7 separate regions of the Homo sapiens genome follow, and regions 1, 2, 4, 5, 6 and 7 are each linked to region 3. Evidence: promoter capture Hi-C in 16 types of primary human blood cells and fetal thymus (Javierre and others, 2016). All regions are on one chromosome and are shown on one strand. Each heading gives the region's core, a stretch centred on a gene start or on the middle of the fragment in contact. The rest is flanking DNA. Distances are from core to core; before and after follow the strand shown.

Region 1 (2,700 bases), core at 192-2,691, 690 kb after region 3:
CATTTCCCCAGGAGTTCTTTGACCTGGCATCAGACAAGGACAGATGTGGAAAGCCCGGTGTTGTAAGGGCCAAGGAGATTGTTCTCACCCAGCCAGAGCCACACTGGAACTAGAGCAGCACTAGGTTTTCTTTAGGAAATAGCCCTTACCTTCTGGCATTGTAGAACAAAGCAAGGAGACAGATTAAAAAATTCATCTGAGATAGAGGTAGTCTTCCCAACAGCTTTATACAAGAAGCCTTAACTAGAATGTTGGAGTGGTTCAGAGACTTGATTGGCAAGACATTGTCAGTGTGGTTTCATTAATGGGGTTAATCTTTTTTTTTTTCTGAGATGAAGTCTTGCTCTGTTGCCCGGGCTGGAGTGCAATAGGCGTTGTCTCAGCTCACTGCAACCTCTGCCTCCTGGGTTCAGGAGACTCCCCTGCCTTAGCCTCCCGAGTAGCTGGGATTACAGCACCTGCCACCATGCCCGGCTAATTTTTAAATTTTGAGTAGAGACAGGATTTCAGCATGTTGGCCAGGCTGGTCTTGAACTCCTGACCTCAAGTGATCCGCCTGCCTCAGTCTCCCAAAGTGCTGGGATTATGGCTGTGAGCCACTGCACTCTGTCCTAATGGGGTTAATCTTGATGGTATCAGGTGGAGAGATTTTGTAATGATTTTTACTGCTGGATAATTTCTTTTGGCATAATCACTTGAGGAGTGGTGAAAACTGTTTCTACTTGCTCCTTCAAACGCCTTCAAGTGGCTTCTAAGGCCAGGCCTTAGAAGCTCCAGAAAGCTTCCTTCAGCCAGGTTCTACTTACACTAAGCAGTTTTATTTCTTCCAATATCATGGTAACCTGAATGGGTGATGCTTTTGCACCTTCTTTTTGTAAACAGTGGAAAAAAGCATTTCATAACAGTAAATAAAAAGGAAGAAAGGCATTAGTTTTAAAATGTTTTGCCATTGCATTTAAGTCAGCTTTTTGAACTTATGTCAATTAGAATCATTATACTACATATTAGTAACTTGCTTTTTGGCAGTTTAGACATAAAAGCAAACCTGGGCTATATTGCAGGGAGATTTTCTAATCATTGGGAAGCTCAGCGGAACAGGAGAATGAGCACGTGTGTGTTAGCCCCCTCCCTGACGTGCCCTTCTTGTGTGCCCACTGTATTGTCCACTGTATTGTGTCATTCTGTGCTTGGCTGCTGACAGCACGTTTTCAAGTTTCTTTAGCACAGTGGCAGGTCTTTGTTTTGTGTTGTAGGGACAGAGCGGTTTCCTGTTCTGACCTTTCATCTTTCTTTCCTCTCTAGCTGAAACATTCTTTTCATGAAGGGTGGCTTGACACCTTTGAGAACCTGCCAACTTTGGTTCATGTGGTAATTTGGGCAGACACGTTGCCAGTGAGCCAATTAGCATTTTTGTCCATCCCTTTCCTATTTCTCCATTACATTAAAAAAATACCAGTTTTAATTGGGGTTAGAGAGTAATTATCTAATACCTCATTTTGTTTTTTACAGGTACAGGATTATCATGGTCATAAAATTTGTGACCCTTACGCCTGGCTTGAAGACCCCGACAGTGAACAGACTAAGGTAATTTGGTTTCTAATTAAAGATAAGGCAGCCTTAGTAGCTAGCACCAAACTCTAAATGTCAGTAACTATAGCTTTTCCTTTCTGGTGTTCTCCTGTGTTTTCTGCCATGGGATGGTGAGTATACCTGTTGTTACCACTACTTTTTGTCAAATAATTTATGGGAAAAAGACAAAAGCATGGCTTAGTCCCAGAGAAGATCACCTAAGTGTTTCAGATAATGTTTATGGTTCATAGTGACACTGATGAGCTATTTTAAATGAAAATATCAGAAAGAAAACTGATTTTTGCCAAAAGAAAAAATGAAAACCTAGATAGAAATGATGTTAAAGGAAAAAATTGCCTAAATATTTTTTTCCAAAGAAAAGGAAATCTTGTATATGAAATGAATATTAGGTCATGAAAACTGAACACTGTCCTTAAATTGCTTATTGATGTCAACACAACAACAGTGAAACAAAAGCTAAGTAGTGAAGGGGCAGGGGGGAGCATTTTCTGCCCTAAAAACATAAAGCTTTCATATTCTTTTGGAGAAACAGTATTTCAAGGATCCTGCTGAAGTCCATTCAGTAATGAAGGTGGCCCTAAGTCCTATGTCCCACAGACATTTTTCCCTTTTTGGAGTGCCTAGGACTTGTCACTTATGTATACTTTTTTTTTTTTTTTTTGTAGACAGAGTCTTACTCTGTCACCCAGGCTGTAGGGCACTGGTGCGATCTTGGCTCACTGCAACCTCCGCCTCCTGGGTTCAAGCAATTCTTGTACCTCAGCCTCCCGAGTAGCTGGGATTACAGGCATGTGCCACCACACCCGGCTAGTTTTTGTATTTTTAGTAGAGACGGGGGTTTCACCATGTTGGCCAGGCTGGTCTCGAACTCCTGGCCTCAAGTGATCCTCCCGCCTCGGCCTCCCAAAGTGTTGGGATTACAAGTGTGCACCATCGCGCCCAGCCCATTTATGTGTACTTTATGTAGTTAATTAAGTTTGCTTGGTTGGGGGAATAGTGTTTCTCAAGTTCATCTTAAGTTCTTGGATTCTTCTATTTATAACCATAGTACATAATACTTAGTACATATTTGCAGTTTCTGATATGTTCAGCATCCCAAAATTTATTCGA
Region 2 (2,700 bases), core at 44-2,543, 650 kb after region 3:
TGATATAATACTTCAAAGCTGATTTAATCATAAATAATTTACATTAAAATTAGTTCCTGTTTAGTGAATGAGTGATTGTTGGCAGATATACATTTTCTTATATCATTACAGGTAGGAAAATAGTAGGAGATTTGTTTAGGCACCAAACTTATTCCATAAAAATTCTTTCATCATCAAAGCTGTACTTGATATGCTTGAAAAGATTAGGATGATAGATTCTGAGTCTTCCCTTCTTGGCATGATCAGAGGATAAAATCTTTTTTCATCATCTTAAAAAAACAGAACTACCATGTGCAGTCTCAGAAAAATGGTGAAATTGTGTTACATAGTTAAACGAACCAGTTCACACTCATTCTGAAAATTAGCTCAGAGCTTTTTGTTCCAAATTTAACAAACTAAATAAACTAAAAATATACTCTGAGTAGGTCATAATCATATTAGCCAAGCAAAAATTAGTTTTCAAGTTCTACATGTGACAGATGTGCTTGGATGGAAGACATTTGTTAACTTCTTTGTCGTTTATGGAGGTCTGTCCCTCTGTATCTGTACCATGGGTTCCTCTGAGGACAGATAATTTGCTTTTGCATCATGTATACCCCTACATTTCTCCAGCATCTAGAACATCATTTGCTAGATAGTTGATTAAATAAGTAACAAGTTAACAGTCCAAGCCAAATTTCAAACATGTCTTTTCCCCCATTTAATTGCTACATACTACGTTATAGTGGAGCATATTTAATAAAATAACACTATCATCTGTGATAGAAAGCCAAAAAAACAACATTTAATAATGGAGTCAATTCTACCACATGCAGAGCCAGGGAAGACTTCTACTTTTACACTTTATGTACTTCTGGATTGTTTTAACTTTTTTTACTTTAAAAAAACATATATTACTTCTGTAATTTTAAAAAAAATAGAATGAAAGGCTGAGAATATTTTGTTTTGTCGTAAACATTCACGCTTTAGGAATTTGTTGTTCCTAAAAGGGTGGGGACCAAAGAAAGTTTCAAAGATGCTGAAGCACAAAAACTGTTTAATGTAAATATTAGGATTCACATAACTACAACTTGGAAAAATGCTATTGATCCAGATCTCCCGCAATCCTTTGCTAAAGCAATGAAAAAGAAGCATATTTTCTTCCTATTTTAAGGCGATAGATTGTTTTTGCTAGACTGTGGGGGATGGGGAGAGAATCATGTTGTTTTGTACTTAAGTGTAAGTGTACCTTATAACTCCCTGCAAAAGAAGGGATAAAAAAATATCAAAGAAGAAGGACAAGTCATAGCCCTTTTCTTTTTTCCCCCAGAAATTTTATTCCAGGTTAGTAAGAACTTACAGGACAGTTTGCCACCAAACTTACCTAATAGTCTCAAAGCTGTGCCTAACATTAACGAGATTTTACTCTAAAATTCAATGGATGGTGACTTAAAAATGAGTTAAATCTTCCCATGTCTTAACAGTGGGTTGTGTAAAGTGATTTTCTTCCAAAGACTACTGAAAGGAGAGGGGGGATAAAAGTAACTTTACAGCAGAGACACCTGACAAACACTATCCTGACCAGATGCTCAAGGTTAACAGCAACAGTGATAAGTCTGGCCGATGGCGTGTACCCTTGAGATGAGGTGATGAGTGGGCCATCTCACCTCTGTGGTCTTTCTCCCCCAAACCCATTACTGCAGCCTAATCATAAGAAAAATGGGCAAATCCCAATGGAAGGACTTTCTACAAAATAGCTGACCAGCACACCACGGAACTGTCAAAGTTATCAAAAACAAGAAAAGTCTGAAAAACTGTCACAGCCAAGAGGACCCTAAAGAGACATGACAGCTAAATGTAATATAGTATCCTGGATGGGATCCTTCCTAGAACAGAAAAAGACATTAGGTAAAAACTAAAGGAAATCTGAATAAAGTATGGACTTCAGTTAATGTCAATGTATTATTATTGGTTCATTGTTATAACAAATATACCACAGTAAATATAAGATGTTAATAATAGGAAAAAATGGCTACAAAGTATATGGGAGTTCTCTTACTCTCCTTGCAACTTTTCTGTGAGTCCAAAACTATTCTGAAATAAAAAATGTTTGATTTTGTTAAAGTAAATGAAGTAGGAATAAGACCTGAACAATTTAATCTTCCAGTGGCAGGAATTAAAGATTTCTTTAGTAGGAGGCAGTGGTACACATCTGTAGTCCCAACTATTTAGGAGGCTGAGGTGGGAGGATCTCTTGAACCAAGGAGTTTGAGGCCAGCCTGGGCAATATATTGAGAACCCATCTCTAAATTAAGAATTAAAACAAAAAAGTTTTAAGATTTTTTTCAAGCATGCAAGTTCTGATTGTTTAATAAATATGCACCAGTCTTTGTGGATTACTCTAAAAATACTCTTTTATGATATACTCTTAAAATAAATTTTGATAAAACCATAAAAAGCTATATCTGAAGAGTGGAACAGATCTTTGAAATAGACTCATCTTTATTTTATGAATGAGTTAGTAAGAAGCTGATAGGCAGAGCAAAAAGGCAAACCCAATTCCCCTAACTCCACATCCCCAAAGTACGAAGACCCCTACCACAAAATACCAACTGAACACAGGAATCTATTTCTAAGATATCTATCACTCCAATCACAGTCTGCCAGAAATTTGGTATAATTGCCCAATATTTTCCAATGACTTAATTTAAAGTAATTCTA
Region 3 (2,700 bases), core at 192-2,691:
AGGAGCTCTGTCTGCCTCTGAATGAAGCTAAAAATGGAAAGCGCGTGTGGTGCAGGAGCGGAACCCAGCCTGCCTTTTCCAAATGGGGAAGACCGAACTTTCCCACCAGCTCCCAACGCAAAACAACTTTCAAAACAACTGCCTCCTCCCTCTGCTGCGAGCTCTCTTTCATCCTCTCACATGGAAGACTGAAAAGGGTTGCATCCTGCCAGCATCACTGAGCTACGGCCTCTTAGAAATCACTTGGACCACAGGAAAAGAGGAGGAAAAATGGGTGAAGGGGAAAACAGCCTGCAGTGTCTTCTGACTTGCAAGCATCTCATACCAAATTGAAAAGGCAAAAACAAAACATAAAACCGTTTAATAAAATTCCCTGGAGAGAATTCCTTTAGGAGTCCTCAGCTACAAATAGCACTTTCCATTTAAATCTGAAAGTGTATGAATTCCCAGAAGTCACTGATGTACTACAGTTTACTGTAACTAAAGTTATAACAAATTTAGAAGACTTGGAGGACAAGCTCTGCTTCCACTTGTACATTGATGAGGATATTCCCCCAAAATCCTCCCTCACACTCAGAAAAAAACTGTTTTCCAAAGGCAAAAAAAGGTAAACAACTTCTGTAAGGGTTTTCTCATATAGACATGTTTGATAAAAATGAGGAATATGGGTATCATTTCCATGTAAGAATGTGTGTTTGTTCAAATGTAAACATAACATTCTGTGGAAGTCCTTCAAGGAGGTTTTTACATTCTTCCACTTCTCTAAATAGGATGCTCTTAAAAAAAAAAAAGTTGGATGCAAAGTTGTTTTTCCCTCAGTTATGATTTAAGCAAACCTGCTTATTTTTATTTAGTTCCAACATGTAGAGTCATGACGCCAAACACATGTTAAAAATAAAATAAAATAGAAAACTTCAGCCAACCCGGAATAGTTTGACGAGTGTGAGCTGGAACCACTACTGAAATTTCAATGAATTGGCAATTATGTCTAGAACTGAAAGGGTTAATGATTCATAAGGAAAGTCTCACAAATGTTTGACAGCACTAAGTGCACTAAAGCAGAAGCATGTTTCTACTGCGACATTAGCCAAAAAAAATTAATAATAATAACAATAAAGGAAAAGAAAATAAAGTTTTCAGATCAATTTCAGAATTAAAAAAAAAAAATTCAAGTTCCTTACCAAGGTCGTACCCACACGTTTTTCCAAGCAAATATCCAACATCTGAGAAAAGTCTCGTTCATCTCTACCCAGTCCACATTCTCCCCGCGTCCCCCGCCAGGCTGAGCCGCACAGACGCGCACCTCGGCGGTCCCTCCTCGCTTCGTCCGGCCGCCCGGGCGCCCGCGTCCCAGCTCCGGGCGGACAGGTGCCGCGGTCGCTGCTCTTGCCTCTCCGCAACACTGGAGGGCCGAGTGTCACGGCAGCACTTTGTCTGTGTTAACCGTCTGGCTTCCCCTCCCTGCTTAAGATTTCCTTAGCCACTCGGCTGCGCGAAGTGGGGGCGTGGCCAACGTGGCCAACACCACCTGGCCGAGCCCAGGGCTTTCCCCCAGATTGCTAGCACAGCCGCCGAGAGCTTCCTCTCTTCGCATGTGTATTTCAACATTGACTTGGAATCTTCTTACTTCCCTTTGAAGGCACTTAACCTCAACGCTTACTTGGGCTCTATTGTATTCTAAACACTCCAGATCGCCCTCCTTCCTGGCGCGGCAGAATTAGGGGGCGCACGTTCCTTAAATTAAGGAAACTTAAAATTTACCTACACAGTTTCTGATTTCTCAGCTCAAATCCCCAGGTACAAAAGACACAAATCTTACTTCAAAAGAGCAAGTTAAATTGTTTTTGCAGCTAGTGTAATACAGTGGAGCTGTCTGGTCCTCAAGCTGTTGTGTATGTAACGCACGTTTCCCCGCCCCCCGCCCCAAAAGTTGTAACATTCCGTTTCTCCTGCTAACGTTCAAACTTGGCAGAACTAACTTTCCTCTTTTAACTATTTAGTAAATAGGGAAATAGGCAAAAGTTATAATTCTACAGATTGTTTGTTTTCCTTTCCTCTCCTCCCAGAACCCACAGGCTGACTTCCCAGGAGTGTAAGTAAAATGTAGAGCATTAGTCGTTTCACAGTTCAGAGGAATATTGAACTGATCACTGCAAGTGGAAAGCGGTCGGAGGCAGTAATTAGTGGGGCTTATTCTGAGCCCCGGCCAGCTTTTCCTCCAGCCCAGTCAGTCCTCTGTTGAAGGAAGGACATCCTGTGATGATGGCATACAATGTCCTGTTTGTTTATTATTAAGAGCGTGGACCTTGCATTCCTGCTTCTCATTACAAAACAAACCAGATGCTTTACTTCCTTCAATGGTCTTGTGCCTTCAGCAAGGAATCCTTTAATTCAGAGAAACAATGTTTATAGCAAACACCCCATTTCAATTATTATTTAGATCATTGAAATCCAGGTCTTCCATTTTTCCTGCTTGCCTTACCATAGGTAGGTTTTTTTAAAATCATTTCTCCTTCGACCTGCAATGTCTTTTCTAACATTTTAAATACACGTGTGCACACACATCCACCCACACACACACCCACATACACACACCCAGTTCCAACCTAATGATACCAACTTAGTCATACAATGAAATGGACATCTGAGTATTTGTTTACAGGAAGAAATGAAACAAAGCAAAACAAAAGCCCAACTCAA
Region 4 (2,700 bases), core at 113-2,612, 670 kb after region 3:
AAGAAGTGCATGAGAAGAATCTCTCTTGTTATACATCCTTCCCCTATACTTGGTATTTTCGGAATTATTGTATCTTTTTTTTTTTTTTTTTTTTTTTTTTTTGAGACGGAGTCTCGCTCTGTTGCCGAGGCTGGACTGCAGTGGTGCAATCTCCGCTCACTGCAAACTCCACCTCCCGGGTTCACGCCATTCTCCTGCCTCAGCCTCCCGAGTAGCTGGGACTACAGGTGCCTGCCACCATGCCTGGCTACTTTTTTGTATTTTTAGTAGAGACGGGGTTCACCGTGTTAGCCAGGATTGTCTCGATCTTCTGACCTCCTGATCTGCCCACCTCAGCCTCCCAAAGTGCTGGGATTACAGCTGTAGCCACCACGCCCGGCCCAGAATTATTGTTTCTAATCTAGTGGATCTGTAATGATACCACACTGTGGTTTAAATGTGCATTTCCCTGATTCCTAGTGAAATTAAGTACTTTTTCTTTTATTTTTTTAATTATACTTTAAGTTCTAGGGTACATGTGCACAACGTGCAGATTTGTTACATATGTATACATGTGCCATGTTGATGTGCTGCACCCATTAACTCGTTATTTACATTAGGTATATCTCCTAATGCTATCCCTCTCCCCACCCCCAACCCCACGACAAGCCCCGGTGTGTGATGTTCCCCTTCCTTTGTCCAAGTGTTCTCATTGTTCAATTCCCACCTGTGAGTGAGAATATGCGGTGTTTGGTTTTTTGTCCTTGCTATAGTTTGCTGAGAATGATGCTTTCCAGCTTCATCCATGTCCCTACAAAGGACATGAACTCATCCTTTTTTATGGCTGCATAGTATTCCATGGTGTATATGTGCCACATTTTCTTAATCCAGTCTATCATTGATGGACATTTGGGTTGGTTCCAAGTCTTTGCTATTGTGAATAGTGCCACAATAAACATACGTGTGCATGTGTCTTTATAGCAGCATGATTTATAATCCTTTGGATATATACCCAGTAATGGGATCGCTGGGTCAAATGGTATTTCTAGTTCCAGATCCTTGAGGAATTGCCACACTGTCTTCCACAATGGTTGAACTAGTTTACAGTCCCACCAACAGTGTAAAAGTGTTCCTATTTCTCCACATCCTCTCCAGCACCAGCTGTTTCCTGACTTTTTAATGATAGCCATTCTAACTGGTATGAGATGGTATCTCATTGTGGTTTTGATTTGCATTTCTCTGATGGCCAGTGATGATGAACATTTTTTCATGTGTCTGTTGGCTGCATAAATGTCTTCTTTTGAGAAGTGTCTGTTCATATCCTTCACCCACTTTTTGATGGGGTTGTTTGTGTTTTTCTTGTAAATTTGTTTGAGTTCTTTGCAGATTCTGGATATTAACCCTTTGTCAGATGAGTAGATTGCAAAAATTTTCTCCCATTCTGTAGGTTGCCTGTTCACTGTGATGGTAGTCTCTTTTGCTGTGCAGAAGCTCTTTAGTTTAATTAGATCACATTTGTCAATTTTGGCTTCTGTGGCCATTGCTTTTGGTGTTTTAGACATGAAGTCCTTGCCCATGCCTATGTCCTGAATGGTATTGCCTAGGTTTTCTTCTAGGGTTTTTATGGCTTTAGGTCTAATATTTAAGTCTTTAATCCATCTTGAATTAATTTTTGTGTAAGGTGTAAAGAAGGGATCCAGTTTCAGCTTTCTACATATGGCTAGCCAGTTTTCCCAGCACCATTTATTAAATAGTGAATCCTTTCCCCATTTCTTGTCAGGTTTGTCAAAGATCAGATGGTTGTAGATGTGTGGTGTTGTTTCTGAGGCCTCTGTTCTGTTCCATTGGTCTATATCTCTGTTTTAGCACCAGTACCATGCTGTTTTGGTTACTGTAGCCTTGTAGTATAGTTTGAAGCCAGGTAGCATGATGCCTCCAGCTTTGTTCTTTTTGTTTAGGATTGTCTTGGCAATGCGGGCTCTTTTTTGGTTCTATATGAACTTTAAAGTGGTTTTTTCCAACTCTGTGAAGAAAGTCATTGGTAGCTTGATGGGGATGGCATTGAATCTGTAAATTACCTTGGGCAGTATGGCCATTTTCACGATATTGATTCTTCCTATCCATGAGCATGGAATGTTCTTCCATTTGTTTGTGTCCTCTTTTATTTCCTTGAGCAGTGGTTTGTAGTTCTCCTTGAAGAGGTCCTTCACATCCCTTGTAAGTTGGATTCCTAGGTATTTTATTCCTTTGTAGCAATTGAGAATGGGAGTTCACTCATGATTTGGCTCTCTGTTTGTCTTTTACTGGTGTATAAGAATGCTTGTGATTTTTGCACTTTGATTTTGTATCCTGAGACTTTGCTGAAATTGCTTATCAGCTTAAGGAAATTTGGGGCCGAGATGATGTGGTTTTCTAAATATACAATTATGTCATCTGCAAACAGGGACGGTTTGACTTTCTCTTTTCCTAATTGAATACCCTTTATTTCTTTCTCTTGCCTGATTGTCCTGGCCAGAACTTCCAACACTATGTTGAATAAGAGTGGTGAGAGAGGGCATCCTTGTCTTGTGCTGGTTTTCAAAGGGAATGCTTCCCGTTTTTGCCCATTCAGTATGATATTGGCTGTGGGTTTGATATTATTTTCAGATACGTTCCATCAATACCTAGTTTATTGAGAGTTTTTAGCATGAAGGGCTGTTGAATTTTTTCAAAGGCCTTTTC
Region 5 (2,700 bases), core at 79-2,578, 520 kb after region 3:
TATACTATGCTCAGCAAAGGAAGCCAAACTCAAAAGGCTACATACCTATTCAAAAAGCACTATACTGGGCCAGGCGCGGTGGCTTACGCTTGTAATCCCAGCACTGTGGGAGGCCGAGGCGGGCGGATCACGAGGTCAAGAGTTCGAGACCAGCCTGGCCAACATGGTGAAACCCCATCTCTACTAAAAATACAAAAAATTAGCTGGGCGTGGCGGCAGGCACCTATAATCCCACCTTTTGGGAGGCTGAGGCGGGAGAATCACTTGAAGCCGGGAGGTAGAGGTTGCAATGAGCCGAGATCGCGCCATTGCACTCCAGCCCGGGCAACAGTGCGAGACTCATCTCAAAAAAAAAAAAAAAAAAAATTTCTACCACAGAGCTTCCCCTCTTTGCTTTCTTCCTTTCCTCTGTGCTTTCTTCCTGGGCTCTCATCTTCTCTTATGGCTTTAAGCCTAGTCTCCATACTGGTGACTCTAAATTTTATATCGCCTGAATTCCAATTTAAAGTTTCTGCTGGCAATTCAAAATCACCGTGTCGAAACCCTATACTCTCCTGGCCAGTTTCTTTTCAGAACTGCACCTCCTATGCTTCCCATATACCCCACTTAAACCTCCCTGCTCTCAGGCCACTTTTATTGGAGTTGTCTTTAATTCCTCTCTCTACACTCATGCCTCATTAGTCACTAAATTTTGTTGATTATACTTTCTAATTATCTCTCAAACAACGCTGTCTCTTCCTTTATATTTCCCAAGCTACTTCCCAAACTCTTGCTCTCACCACTCTTCCTTAGACCATAGCAATAGCCCCTTCTGCAACTAAGCCTTTGTCTCTTTGGTCCACACCTCATTAACATGACACAAATGTCACGTTCCCTGTTTCTTTTGCTCAAAAATCTGCATAGCGTCTCAGGCCTTATGGGATACAGTATGATCTTCTTAGCCTGAGTTTTAAGGCTCTGAATGATTGAGTTCAAATGCTTTTTAAAACCTGTTTTCCTGCCACATCTTTCCACACACGCCAGCCTCCAGAATCACCATCAATATACTTGCAGGGCCTTCACAGAACAAGTGCTTACATTCTCCTGGCTTCTGATAGGCTTCTTCCTAAAACATCCTTCCTCTAAAATTGTTTGACTAATGATAAAATTTCCATTCTTTGGATGTGACCCAAATATCACAATCTATAATGAATCTTTCCCCAATCCTTCCTCTCAGAATGAATAACTCTCGTCCTTGACTCATCTTTGGTGCGTGTGTGTGTGTGTGTGTGTCAATAGATTTGATGACAAAACTGAAGTTACTTATATAAATTATTGACCCTATTAGAGAGTGTGCCCCTTCAGGACAGGACCTGTGTCTTATTCACTTTTATGAACTCTACAGCAGACTAGTAAAGGGCCTCTCTTAAAGAAGATAATATTTGCTAAAGTAGGTCGGGTGCAGTGGCTCACGCCTGTAATCTCAGCACTTTGGGAGGCTGAAGCAGTTGGATCATTTGAGGTCAGGAGTTTGAGACCAGCCTGGCAAACATGGCGAAACCCCATCTTTACTAAAAATAGAAAAACTAGCCGGGCATGGTGGTGGGTACCTGTAAGCCCAGCTACTCTGGAGGCTGAAGCAGGAGAACTGCTTGAACCTGAGAGGCGGAGGTTGCAGTGAACCATAATTGTGCCACTGCACTCCAGCCTGGGTGACAGAGCGAGACTCCATCTCAAAAAAAAAAAAAAAAAAAAAAAAAAAAAAAAAAAAAGCTGAACTAAATTTAGACCATCCTCTAAAGTTTAAAAGAATTCTGCACAATTAAAATGGAGCTAAATTAAGGTCTATATATCCTTTAATTAAGACTCTATACCGAATCTGCTATATAGACTGCCCTATTTCAAGTTGCTGTTCAGAGGATGTAGAATGGCCCTTAGCCTAAAATGTCCTAATCCATCATCAGCCTTAAATCCCATCATGTGTAATAAGGGCAAGATCTGACAGAGCAGAAGGGCCTCTGTTGCACATGCCACCTGGGACTGGCCCCCTTCAATAGCAGTTTTTCCATTTAAATTACCTTTAGGCCTCCAATAACAATTCCTTTGTTAAAGTAAACTCTATCTGCCTGAGATTCAACACTAAGGGTTTCTCTATCCATTTCAAGTAGGAATGGGAGGTTAGTTTCCTAGTGTAAATTCTCTAGATGTTGAATGGAAGAAAATGAAATTCAGATTTAAAAACATCTCATCAGTATTTCAAGTCTGTGGCCAATCAACAGGAATCCACTGAGCATTTTCTATGAAACTAGCATTGTTTATGACAGTCCAGGGTGTTTAAAGGGCATTGAGGTATGCTCTTCATTCCCAAGGAATTTTGTGTGCAGAGCCAAGAGAAAGGGGCAGAATTAATGTGTGAAATTATTTAAGAATACCAACTTCAGGGTAAGGGATTATGAAGAGCAGCCTCATCTAGAGAAGAAAGAGATCTCAATGGGTTGGTGTCATGGGTAAAGCCTTCCAGAGCACAGTCTATATGTCTTATTTGAGTAAAGAATGAGAAAGAATCAGTGTATTAGCTTCCCAGGGCTGCTGTAACAAATTTCCACAAACTAGATAGCTTAACACAACAGAAATTTATTCTGTTACCGTTCTAGAGGCAAGAAGTCTGAAATTAAGAGTTCTACAGGGCCATGTTCCCTTCAGAGGCTCTAGAAGAGATTC
Region 6 (2,700 bases), core at 95-2,594, 540 kb after region 3:
GGGGGGCCGAGGCAGGTGGATCACAAGGTCAGGAGTTCGAGACCAGCCTTGGTCAATGTGGTGAAACCCCGTCTCTACTGAAAATACAAAAATTAGCTGGGCCTGGTGGCGCGCCCCTATAATCCCAACTACTCAGGAGGCTGAGGCAGAAGAATCGCTTGAACCCAGGAGGTGGAGGTTGCAGTGAGCCGAGATCGCACCACTGCACTCCAGCCTAGGCGACAGAGTGAGACTCCGTCTCAAAAAAATTAAAATAAAACAATTAGAGGTGAGGGGGTAGAAATCAGAAGTGCAGACTTTTTTGAAGATCTGTCTTCCAAAAGGAGAGAGTGGTTAGTAAACGTGTAGGTCTGTGTGTTTATGTTTTGGAGTAAAAATAATACTCCCTGACACACACACACACACACACCTCCGAAGAGAAACCCCGTCATCTATTCCTCTAGCTTAAGAGTGATAGAGTGATGTTAGCACATAAAATTGTAACAACAGACACCCTACATTTTTTAATATTCCTTCCTCCCTTTTTTCTACCTCCTTCCCTTTGTTTCTTTTCTGCCTTCCTTCCTCTCCTTCTTTAGTAATACAAGAAGAGATAACAAATTATCTTCAGTGAGCAGAAAAAAAAATATGGTAATGCAAAGGAATTAAGAATAGGTACAAAATTTAAGAAATAAATAACCAAAGCTTCAGATAACAGCAATAATTCAAATTCGTAACCTCAAATCCAAGTACTTCTGTTTATTTTGAGTTCTTATCTTTTAAATGAAGGTCTGCTTTCTTAAAAACAAACAAATCTTCTATAGTTATCTTCTGAAGGAAATATATGAAAGTTAAAGTGAATCAGAAGAATGAGAGAACATTCATTGTTATATGAACAAAGGTCCAAAATGTTCTTTAAAAATCATACTTTCATGTTGATTACCTCAGCAATAAGAGGAACTTTAGAATTTATTAGCCCATTTTACAGATGGGAAAACAGGCCCAGAGAGGTCTGGTGACTTGTCTAATTATATGGCCAGGACAAAAAAAAATTATCTCTCAACCTCCATTCAACCACTACTACCCCAAAGGATTTCCTCTTCCTAAACCAAGTTATCATTGGTTTTGAAAGGAATATAATAATGCTGTCCATTTAACTCCCAGAGGTTTCTTGTTCATAACTAGAAGGGCATCCAAAGTGCTTTGAGCTGTAGGAGGATGAACTGTATGCACTGAAAGCATTTGCCTTCTCCTCATTCTATACCTTTGTATTTACATTTACATCTACCTATTGTCTTGGTTGCTCCCTGTATTATTTATTTACATCTATCACCTACCTTCCAGTCATCTTGGTCCCTAATTTCACAGCCACACACTTGTAACTTTGTCATGTAAAAGTATTCCCATTTTCCTATAGCTGCCTGTAGCTCTGCCAGTTGACTGTGTTTACTGTGTCTGTGTCGTGTCTGTGTACCAGCATGCAGATGGTCTGAGCTTCACTCAGAGACAGTCCCTGTCCTCGAGCTGTGTTCCCACAATTCATACAAAGGCCAGCCTCAAAAGGACCACCACTTAAGGGTCCTCTATAAGATTAGAAACAGGAGGTTTTACCCCATATTTTCTGTACTGGTGGCCTTTCTGAGAGCCCCTTGCACATGACATTAGAATTGGAGGTACTTAAGAAAAAAAAGAATACTCTTAAAGCTAATCCTGCTGTTGACAGAAAGCAGAATTCGACTTTGGAAACTATCCATTCCTTAATATCGCATATTGCTCTCATTTGCAGTGTAAAATGATGCAACTTACGTTGTACTTTGTCCAGTAGGGCACTTAATCCTCATGAAAGAAAGAAATGAATCACTGCAGCAAGACGCGCATCCCTGATGACTCTGTCTTATGTTAGAAATGAGTAATTATTATAGGGATAAATAACTGTGAGTTTCTCAGAATAGATAAGTTTCCTCAAGTCATGAGACAGCGCTCACAGGATTCCCTCATCCCAAATCCTGGAAACGCTAAGCTTCGGACACCCCCATTCTTGCGTTCAGGAACTGAGACATTTAAATGGGCATGAGTGGAAAAATCCACATTTGCTCACAGGATATGAATACGGTTTCCTTGCTTCAAGTGGCATCTTAATGGGAATTGTGTTTCACACTCCAATTAAAGAGGCCAAGTCCCAGAGAAAGGCTCTAACTTTCAATAGCTGTGTATAAATAGCATAGGAGAGTAAACAATTGGGGAACCACTTTCCCAGGCCAGCCTTTAAGGACATCGAACTCCAGAACCAATCACATGAGAAATATCACTCATATATTGCCATGGTGGCTTCCATATTAAAAGCTGGTGTTTACCATTCAGTTAGGAGAGTACTGTAATAAAAAAAAAAAATAAGATTGCTATTTTATCTTGATAAAGTTAGTCCAAAGCAAACATCAATGTTTTTGAGAAAACAAATACTGTAAAGCAATTCAGATGTCTTCTAGAGAAAAGTAATTTATCATGTCTCTTCTGAGCTTCAGGTGTTTCCAGGAACTAGGAAATGTTTTGAAAATGAAGCAAAATTGGTAAGCAGACTAATATCAAATAAATTGTTTCCCAAGCCATGATCATAATCCAAAAGCCTGGATAAAGAACGTATTTTTCGGTCATGCACTGTTCTCCTTTGTCTTAGCTTGATGAGTAAGAAGCTGAGCTATGGTTTCTTCACTGAGATCAGCT
Region 7 (2,700 bases), core at 70-2,569, 570 kb after region 3:
TGTTGTGGCTCTCTGTGGAGAGATACTAGCCTAACTCCTGGGAGAATTTTGCACATGTACCTGGAGATGACATGAGGGACCCACCCTAGGGCTGTGAATCCCGATCTCTGTGGTCCAAGCAAGAATATTTTTGCTCCCCAAACTTCCCAGGTGATTCTGCAACATTCTACTGCAAAGCTGGCCTCAGTCTTCCTGAACCCCACAAATGCTGGCATTGTCACAGAGATTCCTGAAACGTAAGACCTTATAGGCATTCCAAAAGTTATGTTACACCCAATACTTTAGAGTTGGGGGACTGGATATAGGGAAAGAAAGAAAGGGAAGCTTTCCCCTTAACCTTCTCTTCCACTATATAATATATGAGCTCTGACCACAAAGCTCACATAGCAATTTTTGTTTTCCTCTTTCATGCTACAAACCCCTTTCTACTTTGCATTGGAAATTATATATAATTTATTCTCTCCATGGATTACCTTGTATTCCTCAAAGTGCTTGGCACATGACAATGAGAAATCATTGTTGAGGTGAATTGATAGGTGAATGAATTCAACAGTGAATTCAGTCTTCTCAACTTCTATACCTGCTGAGACCCAAAAGGAAGGGGGTGATTGGACTAGGAAGAGAAAGGCAGTGTCGGTATCTCTGAAGCTGCCTTGACCAGAAACAAAGCATTTTTGACTCATGAGGGACCATTTCCCCAGGGATGAGAACAAGTGCACCTTTTCCTGTCTCTCCAAGCAAGAAACGAATGCTGAGATCTTGAAATGCCTTGCTGTGCTCTGCCAAACTCACAAACACACCATATGAGATGCTGATGAAATACTTTTAAAGAAAAGAAAAACTGGCCGGGTGTGGTGGCTCATGCCTGCAATCCCAGTACTTTGGGAGGCCAAGACAAGTGGATCACCTGAGGTCAGGAGTTCAAGACTAGCCTGACCAACATGGCAAAACCCTGTCTCTACTAAAATACAAAATTAGGTGGGCGTGGGGGCAGGCACCTGTAATCCCAGCTACTTGGGAGGCTGAGGCAGGAGAATCACTTGAACCCGGGAGGCCAGAGGTTGCAGTCAGCCAAGATCACCACTGTACTCCAGCTGGGGCAACAGAGTGAGACTCTGTCTCAAAAAAAAAAAGAAAGAAAGAAAGTAAGAAAAACCATAATTGAAGTGGGTTGTCCTCCAGTGACACTTAGTGCCCCCTAAAAATCTAAGCGACTGTGGTCTCAGGCTTTCAGCAGGCAGGTTGCTCTTGTCTCATGCATGCAATTCTGTGTGGTGGAGAGCTAGAATAGGCTGATAAGCAGAGTTTATAGTGAGGAGGTTTCTAAAACCAAGAAAACTGTATAAACATAGAAAACTAAAAGAGGAAGAATCAACAGAACCAAGAGCTTATTTGTAATGTCTCATGTACCATGTGGGAGGCTTCCAGGTTTGAGTCGCTTATTTGAAACCTATCTTGCTGAGGGCATATATTAAGGTGTATTCTCCAAATCCATTGTGGGGGCATCATTTCCAACAGCCAGGCAATTTCAAGGCCAGGTTGGCCAAGATATCTTGGTATTTCACAGTGGAACATGTTCTTTGAAATGCAAGAATGAAAAGCAGGGTCTCAGGTGGTGAGTATGGAGGGTCAATCAAGTGAGTATGGAGGGTCAATCAATTACTGTTAAAGTCCTTGATGGGGTCTACACAGATCTGCTGTTATTGAGGGAATAACTTCAGTTGGAACAGGTAGCAGTCACTTAACCTGTCAATTGAGCTGTTTAGATGAGTGGCTCACAAGATTCACTGCCAACCTGAATTAAATGTAAGTGTACACCCAGACTGTTTTCAGCATCACTTGCACAAATATATATATTTCCACCTCCACCTCTGAAGAAGCCAATTCAGTAGGACTATGATAAAAGAATAAATACTTTTAAAGGTCCTGATATGATTCTGGGGCCCAGCTAGATTTGGGGAACAGTACTCTCCATAATTAATAGAGTGTAGGTGTAGCCCAGGTATGGAACAACTCCAAGGCATCTTTGGAGTAGTTACCAAATAGGAAGGGCATTTCCATTCTTCAGTGCATTTTTAATATTGAGAAACACTTTAGGTAGTGAGTTAAATTGTATGGAAATATTCATGTGCTCTACACACACACACACACAGACACACACATATACTAGTGATAGGAAAAAATCTAGATTTGATTCATCCTGTTGCTAGCCAAATTCTTTCCATCCACTGAACTTCCTCAGAGTTCTTTGAAGTCAACAATTACTTTGTTCTCAGAGGAATCATTCTGTGGCAAGGAAAATGTTGAAAGCTTAGCAGTGGTATTAGGACTTTCCCAATCTGAATCATTTCAAAATATTTATCTGCATTTTGTTTATTCTTTTTCAGTATTTAGACTTCACTCTTTCTATTAACCAAATCTACTGATATTAGTCACTTGGAAGGCATAGTAAAGACAGCAAATTTGTCAGTGTTGATAACAAAAGGCAGCTACCAATAACTGATTTCCTTATTAATCTACGCTGTCCTCTTTCAGAAGCACAGGTTTGGTGACTGAATAGAACCTTGAGCATAGAGCCTGAAACAGAATCATTTCATAGTAAATATGAACTATAATTTGCATTATTCTTCTTTCATTACCTCATTAGCCAGCCCCACTCCTCCTGACAGATTAGCAGCAATGTACTGAGGGAATATTTTA

What was found. Contacts are between HindIII fragments. The CHiCAGO score rates a contact against its expected background, and 5 or more counts as called.
Region 1: a fragment that was not itself captured here is called in contact with the fragment with the promoter of PRDM1 in region 3 in 2 of 17 cell types (total CD4 T cells and naive CD8 T cells); the score reaches 7.1 in total CD4 T cells.
Region 2: a contact is called between a fragment that was not itself captured here and the fragment with the promoter of PRDM1 in region 3, in 14 of 17 cell types (M0 macrophages, total CD8 T cells, total CD4 T cells and 11 more). The highest score is 17.2, in M0 macrophages.
Region 4: a fragment that was not itself captured here is called in contact with the fragment with the promoter of PRDM1 in region 3 in 1 of 17 cell types (M0 macrophages); the score reaches 5.7 in M0 macrophages.
Region 5: a fragment that was not itself captured here is called in contact with the fragment with the promoter of PRDM1 in region 3 in 2 of 17 cell types (M1 macrophages and monocytes); the score reaches 5.7 in M1 macrophages.
Region 6: a fragment that was not itself captured here is called in contact with the fragment with the promoter of PRDM1 in region 3 in 2 of 17 cell types (M0 macrophages and M1 macrophages); the score reaches 7.4 in M0 macrophages.
Region 7: a contact is called between a fragment that was not itself captured here and the fragment with the promoter of PRDM1 in region 3, in 6 of 17 cell types (M1 macrophages, activated CD4 T cells, M0 macrophages and 3 more). The highest score is 7.4, in M1 macrophages.

Annotation. Positions count from the first base shown.
Region 1 is chr6:105,396,737-105,399,436 of GRCh38, reverse strand. PREP (prolyl endopeptidase) reads left to right here. Exons shown (of 15, transcript NM_002726.5): 2 at 1,510-1,584. Among named protein-coding and RNA genes, the nearest start is that of PREP, 5.0 kb to the left of the region's middle. RefSeq lists an enhancer at 775-1,537. The HindIII fragment of the contact is 1,316 bases long and covers 784-2,099 here.
Region 2 is chr6:105,435,112-105,437,811 of GRCh38, reverse strand. No RefSeq gene overlaps it. Among named protein-coding and RNA genes, the nearest start is that of PREP, 33 kb to the right of the region's middle. The HindIII fragment of the contact is 7,172 bases long and covers 1-2,700 here.
Region 3 is chr6:106,085,077-106,087,776 of GRCh38, reverse strand. It overlaps PRDM1 (PR/SET domain 1), which reads right to left and starts at 1,441. Exons shown (of 7, transcript NM_001198.4): 1 at 1,182-1,441. The coding sequence starts at 1,223. RefSeq lists an enhancer at 1,094-1,813. The HindIII fragment of the contact is 5,820 bases long and covers 1-2,700 here.
Region 4 is chr6:105,418,933-105,421,632 of GRCh38, reverse strand. No RefSeq gene overlaps it. Among named protein-coding and RNA genes, the nearest start is that of PREP, 17 kb to the right of the region's middle. The HindIII fragment of the contact is 2,945 bases long and covers 1-2,700 here.
Region 5 is chr6:105,562,840-105,565,539 of GRCh38, reverse strand. No RefSeq gene overlaps it. Among named protein-coding and RNA genes, the nearest start is that of LINC02836, 68 kb to the left of the region's middle. The HindIII fragment of the contact is 3,596 bases long and covers 1-2,700 here.
Region 6 is chr6:105,545,718-105,548,417 of GRCh38, reverse strand. No RefSeq gene overlaps it. Among named protein-coding and RNA genes, the nearest start is that of LINC02836, 85 kb to the left of the region's middle. The HindIII fragment of the contact is 1,315 bases long and covers 687-2,001 here.
Region 7 is chr6:105,510,488-105,513,187 of GRCh38, reverse strand. No RefSeq gene overlaps it. Among named protein-coding and RNA genes, the nearest start is that of PREP, 110 kb to the right of the region's middle. The HindIII fragment of the contact is 1,986 bases long and covers 327-2,312 here.